Regions from separate parts of the Homo sapiens genome. Here region 2 is linked to region 1. Evidence: promoter capture Hi-C in 16 types of primary human blood cells and fetal thymus (Javierre and others, 2016). All regions are on one chromosome and are shown on one strand. The core of a region is centred on a gene start or on the middle of the fragment in contact, and the rest is flanking DNA. Distances in the headings are between cores, read along the strand shown. Region 1 holds the start of ST8SIA3 (ST8 alpha-N-acetyl-neuraminide alpha-2,8-sialyltransferase 3). Region 2 overlaps WDR7 (WD repeat domain 7).

Region 1 (5,484 bases), core at 2,440-4,939:
ACAAAATACACCACCTTTCCTGGCCTTCCCACCTAAATGGGTTCCTGGAAATTGTTCTTGGCCAGTATGGGTTGGTGAGGGGCTAGCCAGGGAGCAGAGTCATGTTCGCAAAAGGTGGGCACTCATGAGAGTGGAAGAAGGGAAGTAAGTTCCTATGTCTAGAATAACACTCTCCTAGAAAACATTACATCTGGGGGATTTTTCATTTCTGTGCTTCTTATTTTCACTCGCCTATACTCTTGCACAGGATTGATTTCCAATGAAATTTGATAAGTGATATTTTGTTAAAATGTCCTGATTTTTTTTAATTATTAAATAGCTATAATCCCAGGCCTGAAAAATCCCTTATCCAGTAGCTACAGTTGTTTTTTGAAGCACCGCCACCAAAATTATTCCCCTGGTAATTATTGAGCAATCCGTTTTCACCCATAAGCCTGTCACATGTAATAAGGATGCCTGCCTGCCTGTTTATTTTCTGGCTAATTTGGTCCCTTTACATCATGTGACCTTCAGTGGCCTGTATGCAATATGAAAATCGTCCTCCTAGGACTTTCTTTAGAAGGTTCACAGAGGTGTGCTAAGCATAAGTAATACATCAGTTTTTAAATCCAGGCAGAGCGAACCCATATCAGATGTCTCAGGAAAGCCTGCAATGCTGTTTTATAAAGGGAACAGAAGAGTTTCTTGATCTTTGCTATTCTCTGCAAGAAAATATCTCACCTAAGTACATCCTTTCGTATGCACTCTGTAGCAGGACATTTACAGGGTCAGAGAAAAAGACACTAAAAACTTACCCAAGCTGTTAGCTCATATTTATTAACTGCTTAATATAGGCCAGGGTGCAAAGGCCTTTATATGCTTTGTTTAATCTTCCCCCAAACCCTGGGAGATTTTTATCCCAGTTCTGCAGATTAGCAGACTGAAACACAGAGAAGTTGTAACTTACCCAAGGTCACCTGGCTGTGGATGCCAGAGTAAGCATTTATTTTAATTGATACATAATAATCATACATATATAGGTACATAGTGATATTTTGATACATACAATACATAGTGATCCCATCAGGGTAATTAGCATATTTGTCATTTCAAACTTGTATCATTTCTTTGTTTTGGGGCATTCAATATCTTCTCTTCTAGGTATATGAAAATATACAATACATTATTGTAACTATAGTCATCCTATAGTGCTATAGAACACTAGAACTTATTCCTTCTATCCAGCTGTAATTTTGTATCCTTTAATAAATATTTTATCCTCTCTCCCCCGTACACTTCCCAGCCTCTAGTATTCTCTGTTCTACTTTTTACTTCTTTGAGATCAGCTTTTTTAGCTTCTGTGTATGAGTGAGAACATGCGGTGTTTAACTTTCTGTTCCTGGCTTATTTCACTTAACATAATGTCCTCCAGGCTCATTCCTGTTGCTGAGAATGACAGAATTTCATTCTTACTTATGGATGAATGGGATTCCTTTATGTATATATACCACATTTTCTTTATCCATTCATCTGTTGTTGAATACTTGGGTTGATCCATATCTTGGCTATTGTGAACAATGTGGCAATAAACATGGTGGTAGATATCTCTTTGACATACTGATTTCCGTTCCTTTGCATAAACGCCCAGTCATGGGAATACTGGATCTTATAATAGTTCAGTTTGTAGTTTTTTTCAGGTACCTCTGTACTGTTCTCCATAGTGGCTGTACTAGAATGCATTCCCACCAACAGTGTATACGAGTTCCCTTTTCTCTGCATCCTTGCCAGCATTTGTTATTTTTTGTGTTTTTGATAATACCCAGAGTATGCTTTTGAAGTCAGGTCTTTCTGGCTCCACAGTCTGAAGGTGTAACACTACCCCAGGCTGCCTCTCCATAGCATGTTTCCTGATTTCTGGTTCAAGAAGACTTTTTCTAACAGGTGTCATTCCTAGATGGCTCTCTTAAGATCTTACTCCCTTTGGCATTTTACACCTTACTCATACAATCATTTTTAAAAAATAGCAATTTAAAAAAATACAGTTCAAGTGTTCATCATATCCAGGCATGCAAGCCTTTTCTAAATTTTTTTAAATAATAAAAAAGCCCCACAGAGGAAAGGAGGTTATTTGTGTCCTCCTGACACACACTTTTAGATTTTGGTTAAAAAGTCTCTAGTGGGTGCAAAGTGACCCCCTTTGTCACTGGAAACAAATAGGAGCATTCTTTGTGCCACTGTCCACAACCACACAGATATGTTTCCCAAGGGAGCTCATCAGGTCTTCAAACATTTAGCAAGCATGACATGTGTAAGAGACAGTATTGGAGAAGTAAGACAAGCCTTGCTCTGCCGAAGCTTACAATCCAGGAGCTCACCCCTTCAAGGAATTTACAGCCTCCAGACAGATAATAACATTAGGTCCATGAAAGCCTACAAGGCAAGAAGTTCAGGAGAGAAAGAAGTCATAACCATCTTGGAAGAATCTCAACTTGTTTTATCAGAACTCAAACGCCAATTTCTCACCCCTAGCTTCCCTCATTAGTGCTTATTAACTAGTATTGGGAGGACCAAGCGAAGAGTAAAGCTAGGGTAGCAGAGGCCATAAGCTAATTGCAAAGGACAGAGCTAAAGAAACATGCTAGTTTCCCCTGAGCACCCAACTGCATGACTGAAAATGGATTAATTTGTATTTCTAATGGATATACAAGAAACACGTGAATATGCTAAAATAAATTTAAGGTCAAGCAATGCAAAGTGTTAGTGCGTTTGCCTTCCACTCTCAGAGGCAGCCTCTATTATTTGGTTCTTGGGCTGCTTCATAAAAAGTTCTGTGTTTTTTAATGGCCTCAGCTTTTGGGAGGCTCAGGCCACCTAGCCCATCAGGAGACCAGGCCCGAAGGATGGATCTGAAGAGTGGGCAACGGAGAGTTAAACCAGGGCTGACTTCAACAGGCCCAGTCAAGTCAGGGGCAAGCACATTGTCCATCCACTGGAAGACGGAAAGGGGAGAGGAAGGCAGGCCCTCCCGACTCACAGGTCACCTCGCAACTTTGCTAGGCACTACCCACCCTTTAGGGATAAGTGAAGTATGTGGTGGGCATACAAGGCGCACAGGGGAGTCATTCTGGCAAATTCCAAGAAGGTTTTAAGGGCTCCCGAGGCAGGCAGGCCCAGTTGCTGTTTGGAGCTTCCTTTGGGGTGGGAGGATGGCGGGGGCAGGGGGCCGGGGCGGTGCCTTAACGAGGGGAGATGCTTTTAAATAGCTGCCTTCCAAAAACCATCCTCCCTGCTTCTTTGAGAAGCACCCAGCTGTTGTTTACCCTCCAGGACAGCAAATCCGGTTATTTGTCTCTCTATTCCGTGATATTATAAAGTAATGAATGGTCCATTAAACTAAGTTTGGGATCCCGTCTCCCCACAGCCACCTCCTCGCCGGCACCCTCAGCCGGGGAGGCCGTAGGCTCGGGCTGCAGCCTGGCAGCCTCAGTCCCCCTCCCTCCACCATTTCCCTCTACTCCCTCCCTCTCCTGCACCCCCTCCCCCCGGTTATTTGGGAGATTAGAGTTCATTAATTAAATCCTGTGCTTAGATCGAACTGTAACATTATTCCAATCACATTTATCTTGCAGGCGGCGGAGGAGATGGCAGCCTCGCTGGAAACGCGCGGGGGAGCCTGAGCCGGCGGCCGGGGACGCACGGCGCTGCGCGCTCCTTCGCCACGCCGCCGCGCAGCCCCTCCATCTTCCTGCTCGGCACCGGGCCCCGCGCGCCCCTGCCTACGGGGTCCCGCTGCTCTCCGGGGCTCCTGCCAGCCCCAACCCCCGGCCCCGGTGGCCTCCCCCCACCCCCGCCCGGGTCCCCCTCCTCCGCCACACGCGCGCGCGCTCACACACACACACACACACACACACACACACACACACATATATACACGCCAGCGAGCTGCTGGCCGCTCAATGGACCGATTTCCCCGGTTTCCCTGAACCCAGCCCAGCCCGGGATGAGAAACTGCAAAATGGCCCGGGTCGCCAGTGTGCTGGGGCTGGTCATGCTCAGCGTCGCCCTGCTGATTTTATCGCTCATCAGCTACGTGTCCCTGAAAAAGGAGAACATCTTCACCACTCCCAAGTACGCCAGCCCGGGGGCGCCCCGAATGTACATGTTCCACGCGGGATTCCGGTGAGTGCGGGCCTCTGTGTTAGTGCCCTCGGGAATTTGGTTGATGGGGTGTTTGGGGAAGGGAAGGCGTGGGGGAGGGGTGTTTTGGCCTCTCCGAGACTCTTTGGGCCAGATAACTGCGCGGTCCTTCCACTCCTCTCTCTAATTCTCCCTTCCCCCTCCCTGTTATTTTTTTTTTAACCCAAAGCCCCTAGAAGCCGCTGTCCAAATCGATGTGATTGCATTTCTCGTATTCTTCCTCAGCATCCCTTCCCTCATTTCAGAAATGGGGGTTGGGGGAGGCTTTCAGGAGGGTGAGGGTGGAGGGAAAGACGGTGTGTTTGTTCGGGAGGGGGCGGCGAGCAGAGATGGACAGGCGTGAGGGGAGCGCCCTCCCCGCGCCCTGTCCGCAGACTCCGCGGGCCGGGCCCGGGGCGGTGCTGGCGGTTTAATGGCGCAGGCGCCGGACTCCCCTCGCGCCCTCCTCCTTTACTCCCCCACGCCTATCAAAGGACACGCGGGTTTATTCTCAGGAAGCCCCTGGGGCGTTCTCTCTCAACCCTTTCCCCCGCAGCCACCGCCCCCCACCAGCTTTCCGGGATTTCTGCAATTCCCCCGCCCCCTGCGGGAAGCGAGCCTCGGAAGGGCCGCCCACCCTCGCCAGGTCGGAGTCACCGCTCCGCGCTGGGCCGGCCTGTGAAGGCTCCAGGCGCAGCTTGACGCCGCTCTGCGAGAGCCCCCGCCCCGCTCTGTGACCCCGGGAACTCTCCCAGCAGGGCCTCCTGACGGGCAGGTGGCAACTACAAAGTGCCACCTGTGGTCCAAGCTGGGACCGAGGCGAGGAACCCAGAGGAGCCTCGCCTGGACCGAGGAGCGGAGTAGGCCGGCGGCCCCCGGGGGTCCCCAGCCAAGTTATAGGAAGTGAAATCGGACGTGGGTTTGGGAAGGAAGAGGTTAAGGCAGGAACCACCCCCAGACTTTCCCTGGGTCTCCGGTTTCCTCTGCCCTTTCTCCAAAAACAATTCTATGGGGCTGCAAAGGCGTAGCGGGTCAGGCTGGCGGGGCGGCCGCTGTCCGCGGTGCTGATTCCCTGGTCCTCGCAGCGCCGCGGGCTCCAGCCCTGCGCCCGGCGTGCGCCCTGCTCTCCGCATGACGGCCATTTTATGGTCTCTCCGGCACCCGGAGGGATGGACAATGCAGATGGGGTTCCCTAGTTTTCTTTTTTTCTCTCGGGTGTGTGTGGGAGCAGAGGGTGGACCAAATGAGAGGGGCTCCGGGACGGAACGGAGCCCGCACGCGTACCAGCCGCCCTCGCCCCAGCCGCTGCACTTTAATGGCTACCTCGGC
Region 2 (5,768 bases), core at 679-3,178, 590 kb before region 1:
CTTGTAGTTTAGCAATTTTATGGATCTTTTCAAAGAACTAGCCTTCTATTCATTGATATCTATTATTTTTCTATTTCACTGGTTTTTGATTTGATTATTATTTATTTTTTCTATTTTAAATGTGCTCTTATATTTTTAATTTCTTAAGGTAAAAGCTGAGATCATTGATTTAAAACCTTTCTCCTTTTCTAATATAGGCATTCAATGCTACAAATTTTCCCCTAAGTATTATTTTAGTGGCATTACACACACTTTGCCATATTGTACTTTTAATTTTCCTTTTGATTTTTTTCTTTTACCCATGGATAATTTAGTAATCAGTTAATATAATTTCCAAACACTTGTGGATTTTCCTAGGATCTGTCTGTTACTGGTTTTCATTTTATGGTCAGATACTATATTTTGTGTGGTTTGAATCCTTTGGCATTTGTTTCAATTGATTGTGTTTATATATGGGCCAATAACATTGCGTACATTTATAGTGTACAACATGATGTTTTGATACATGTGTACATTGTGGAATGGCTAAATCTAGCTAATTAACATATCTATGACCTCATATATGTATCATTTTATGTGTGTTGAGAACACTTAAAATTACTCCCTCAGCAATTTTTAAGTATATAATACATTGTTACTAACTATAGTCTCCATGTTATACAATGTGAATCCTTTTGAATTTATTGAGACTTGTTTTATGGCCCAAAATATAGTCTGTCTTGGTAAATATACTGTGTGTACTTCAGAAGAATGTGTATTCTGCTGTTGTTGGGTGGAATATTTTATAACTGTCAGTCAGGTCAAGTTGCCCGTGTTCAAGTTTAGTATATACTTGCTGATTTTTCTGCCTGCTTGCCTTTATCAATTAAATAAGAGTATTGAATCTGCAGCTATAATTATGGGTTTGTTTATTCCTTCTTGCATTTCTATCCCAGTTTTTGCTTCATGTATTTTGAAGCTCTCTTATTAGGTGCATAAACCTTTGGAATTTTTATTTCTTCTTGATTATTTGACCCTCGTCATTATGAAATGACCTTCTTTATCCTTGGTAATGTCCTTTGCTTTGAAATTTACTTTGTTTATAATAATACAGTAATTTCAGCATTTTTGGCTACTGTTAACATAGTATAATCTTTTCTCATCCTTTTACTTTTTACCTATTTGGCTCTTTATATTTAAGATGTGTTTCTTGTGGGCAGCATATAGTGGGTCTTATTTTTTAATCCAATCTGACCTGCTTTTTACTTGAGATGCATAAGCCGTTTACATTTAATGTGATTGTTGATATGGTTAGGTTTGAATCTGTTATCCTACTACCTTATTTTTCTCTTCGTTGCATTTATTTTTTGTTCTTTTTCTTTTTCTGCTGTCTTTTAGACTAAAAAGATTTTTTTTATGATTCCATTTGATCTCCTTTATGGCTTTATAAGCTAATTTTTATTATTTTAGTAGTTTTTTTAGAGTCTGTAGTCTATGTCTTTCCGTTATCACAGTGTACATTCAAGTGCTATTATACTATTTAACATTTAATATAAATGTTAAACCTTATAATATTATATTAGCATTTCTCATCTCCTGGTCTTTATGCTACTGTTGTCCTGCATTTTACTTTTATATATGTTATAAACCTCACAAATTATTCTTGTGATTTGTGTTTAACAGTAATTATATTTTAAAGAGACTGAAATAAGAAAAAATACATATTTACCCACGTAGTTACCTTTTTTGGTATTCTACATTCCTTTGTGTAGATCAAGACTTCTATCTGGTAAAATTCTTCTAACAAAAGGACTTACTTTAAGCTTTCTTTTTATGTATGTATATATGTATGTATGTATGTATCTATCTATCTATTTATTTATTTATTTAAGTTCTGGGATCCATGTGCTGAACGTGCAGGTTTGCTACATGGATACACATGTGCCATGTTGTTTTGCTGTACCTATCAAGCTGTCATCTAGGTTTTAAGCCCTGCATGCTAATCTTTCTTTTAGTGAGCGTCTGCTCTTCAAGTTTTTGTACATTTGAAAACATCTTTGTTTGTCTTTGTTTTTGAAAGCTTTTTTTTTTTTCTGGTATAGAATTCCAGGTTGACTTTTTATATCTTTTAATGCTTTGAAGATGATATTCTGTTGTCTTCTTGTTTGCATTAGTTCTAACAAGATCTGATAGCATTCTTATCTTTGTTCCTCTGACTGTAACATTACTTTATTAATCTTGTTGCTTTTAAGATTTTCCGTTTATCACTGGTTTTGAGCAGTTTGATTGTGTGGTTCTTCAGTGTAGTGTTCTTCATGTTTCTTGTGGTTGGGGTTCATTGAGTTTATTAATTTTGAAAAATTTTCAATAATTATTTCTTCAAATATTCATTCTGCCCTTTCCTCCCTCCTCTCTCTAAGGGACTGAAATTACATGTACGTTAGGCTGATTGAAGTTGTTTCACCTATCACGGTGCTCTTTTATTTCGGGATTATTTTTCCTCTCTGTGTTTTGATTGAGATAGTTTCCATTGCAATGTCTTCAAGTTTATTAGTCTTTTCTCAGCAATGTGTAATATGCCATTGGTCCCATCCAGTGCACTTTAAAAATTTATTTTTATTTTTTTTTATAGAGACAGTGTCTCGCTATGTTGCCTAGGTTGGTCTTGAACCCCCAGGCTGCAGCAATTTTCCCTGTTTGGCCCCCTCAAAGTGCTGGGATTGCAGGCATGAGTGACCATGCCCAGCTGTCATCCAATTCACTTTTAATCTCAGACATTGTTATATGTGTCCCCAGAATTTTGATTTGGGTCTTAAAATTTTTTTTCCTTGTCTCTACCTAACTGCTTTGAATACATGGATTGCAGTTATAATAAATGTTTTAACACCCTTCACTGATAATTTTGATAGCTCTGTCAGTTCTGGGTTGGTTTAAATTAATTATTCTCCTCCTTGTGGACTGTGCTTTCCTGCCTCTTTGCGTGTTTGATAATCTTAGAATAGATGGGAGATGTTTGAATTTTGCCTGTTTGGGTGCTGGACACTTTTGTGTTCTTAAAAATCTTGAGCTTTGTTGTGGGATGCAGTTATGTCATGTGGAAACAGTTTCTTTTTTTTCCTGGTCTTGCTTTTATGACTTGTTAGGTGGATTTGGAGCAGTGCTCTAAGATGAATTACTCCCTATTACTGAGGCCAAACCTTCCAGAATATCCAATGCCCTGTGAATTATGAGGTTTTCCATTTAGGCTGTTGGGAGCAGGCACTGTTTCTGGTCCTTTAGATATTTTCCCCCCAGCTCGAGTAGTTTCTTTACAGACATGTACTGATTGGTATTCTGCTGTATACTTGAGGGAGATCCTCTGAAGAACTTTGATCTTTGCAGCTCCCTTCTTTCTGTACATTGAATTCTAGCTGCCCTGGTTTCCTGAGACTCTCAGCTTTGTCTCCTGAACTCAGGGAAACTGCTGGGCTGCTCACTTTGTTCTCCATGTAGCTTCACCTAGGAACTCTCTTAAGGCAATAAGCTGGGGTAATCATAGGATCACAGGGCTCACGTTGCTTGTCTCCCATCTCTCAGTCCTTCATTGCATGATGCCCAGTGGCTTGAAAACCATTGTTCATACATTTTGTCATTTTGTTTGTTTGTTTTTGGTTGTTTTGGGCCTGACTGCAAATCTGTTTCTTGTTACTCCATCTTGGCCAGAAGTGGAAGTTCCTTTCCCTTTATTTAAAAATGTTCCAAATATCTATTATTTTATAAAGTAAATATTATTTGTATATATGGAGTTGTGATATTTTTAGAGTGTTATTACTGGTAGAAATGGAAACAGGCTTATACTGGCAAGGGACTTGTTTAATGTATTCTTAGTAATGGTAGTATGATTAGGACACAACCAGCACTTTTTAACTCTAGATCCCGTGCTTTTTCTGCAACAGTATATGTTTTATTTTTCTGAATTCATTGACAATATTTTCCAGGATATACTCAACGAATCAATGGTGGGACGATTCAATATTTATTTCTGTTAGAGATATTATTTGTTATCCTCCTCATCATCTTCATTATGATTCTTAACAGTTGGTGATTCTTCTTGAATTACATTTTTCCTTCTCTGTAATCATAATAGATGGAAACATTCTCATATAATTTGTGACATTGTCATGATGCATTATATATTCACCACCATGATGGTGTTAGATTTGCTCACCTGGTCAAGTCTGAAGATTTTTAAAGTTCGAATACTTTAATATTGCTTCTCTCAGAAAAGCATTGAGTTTTGAGAGCAGTGAAGGCGGCTTTGAAAATTGGGTCTTTTTAAAAAAAAGCATTTATTTAAGGCAATAGATTTAGGAATTTTCATTTGGAAAGCATATATACTTTTCTTCTAAAGTAAATGAAGGCCAGCAGTTCCTACTGAGAGAGAGCTACATAGTAAAATACTTTAGAATACCATTATGAAGCTCACTTTCTATTTTAATATTGAAATAAATATATAGTGTTAATTGTTTTCTCAAAAATATTAAGTTATTTTTGTCTCCTAACAACTCTTGTTAGGGAGGTTAGAGAGATTGGTCTGACATGTACTCTCTTGAGTAGTATGTGTCTAGTCGGTAACATGAACATAAATAACCAATTTAGGGTTGGAAGTGGTAAGAGATACAAAGGACTCTGAGTTGTCTAATATTTCAGCAGTTAGAGCATTATTTTTTCATCTTTCTACTTTGGCTTTTCTTAGCTTGGTTTGCTTCTAAACATTTTCCTCTTATGTTTTTTATTTCCTGACTTCCTCTACTGTGCACATTGACTTACAATGTCTTTTTAAGTTGTATTGCAAACATGAATATGCGTCTTTTCAATAAGCTGTCACTTGCATGTTGGCTAATACTTGTTCAGCTGCCAAATAATCTATATGAAGTAAAGACTTCAGCTGGGGATTGGAACTTTGATAGACATTTGGGTTTGAGAATAAAGATAGTTAAGATAGTTCAGCTTATATAATTTTCCATAACCAATATTAGGGCACTTCATTGGAAAATAGTATCTTCACAAGAGGTTTATTTTGCCTAACAGTGGACTTGTTAATTCAATGTTTGTCAATAATTAACATTTATTGTCACTTGTCTACTTTTTTTTATACAGTTTATTTTTTTTGACACTTGATTTTGCGGTTTATGAAACATGCTACTTGAGAAAAAGGGATTAGAGTTATCAAATAACCACACTTTTATTCATGGTAAATATAGCTGTAAGTCTGCTCATGGCTTTAGGCTTTTCTGCTTTTTTTTTTTTTCCTTTGAGACGGAGTCTCACTCTCTTGTCCAGGCTGGACCGCAGTGGTGCAATCGTGGCTTACCGCAGCCTCGACTTCCAGTCGAGGCTCTTGAATAGTTGGGACTATAGTCAAAGGCCACCATGCCCAGTTAATTTTAAATTTGTTGTAGAAATGGAGTTTCACCATATTGCCCAGGCTGGTTTCGAACTCCTGGGCTCAAGTGATCCTCCCACCCCAACCTCCCAAAGTGCTGCGATTACAGGAGTAAGCCTCTGTGCCTGACTGTTCTACGTTCTAATGTACTGTATTTCTCTCTATTCATTAATCTCATGACGTAAGTCTCTGGTCTGTGTCTCTAGTGCTTATCTTGATTGTGACCATATCTTTATGTTTAGTAGTTGCATCTTTACTCAGTGGGAGGTGCCCAAGCAAGTTTAAGCAATGTAAAGTTTAAGATTATGTTATGTTCTTTGCAACTTTATTTTTCAGAAATGGGTTCAATTTAGGTTGTCTAAAC

The links. The method cuts DNA at HindIII sites, captures the fragments that hold promoters and counts their contacts. A CHiCAGO score of 5 or more calls a contact.
Region 2: a fragment that was not itself captured here is called in contact with the fragment with the promoter of ST8SIA3 in region 1 in 2 of 17 cell types (endothelial precursors and M1 macrophages); the score reaches 5.5 in endothelial precursors.

The regions. Positions count from the first base shown.
Region 1 is chr18:57,348,868-57,354,351 of GRCh38, forward strand. It overlaps ST8SIA3 (ST8 alpha-N-acetyl-neuraminide alpha-2,8-sialyltransferase 3), which reads left to right and starts at 3,690. Exons shown (of 4, transcript NM_015879.3): 1 at 3,690-4,158. The coding sequence starts at 3,980. The HindIII fragment of the contact is 6,120 bases long and covers 2,333-5,484 here.
Region 2 is chr18:56,763,964-56,769,731 of GRCh38, forward strand. The region is part of intron 16 of WDR7 (WD repeat domain 7); the gene reads left to right. Among named protein-coding and RNA genes, the nearest start is that of WDR7, 120 kb to the left of the region's middle. The HindIII fragment of the contact is 257 bases long and covers 1,801-2,057 here.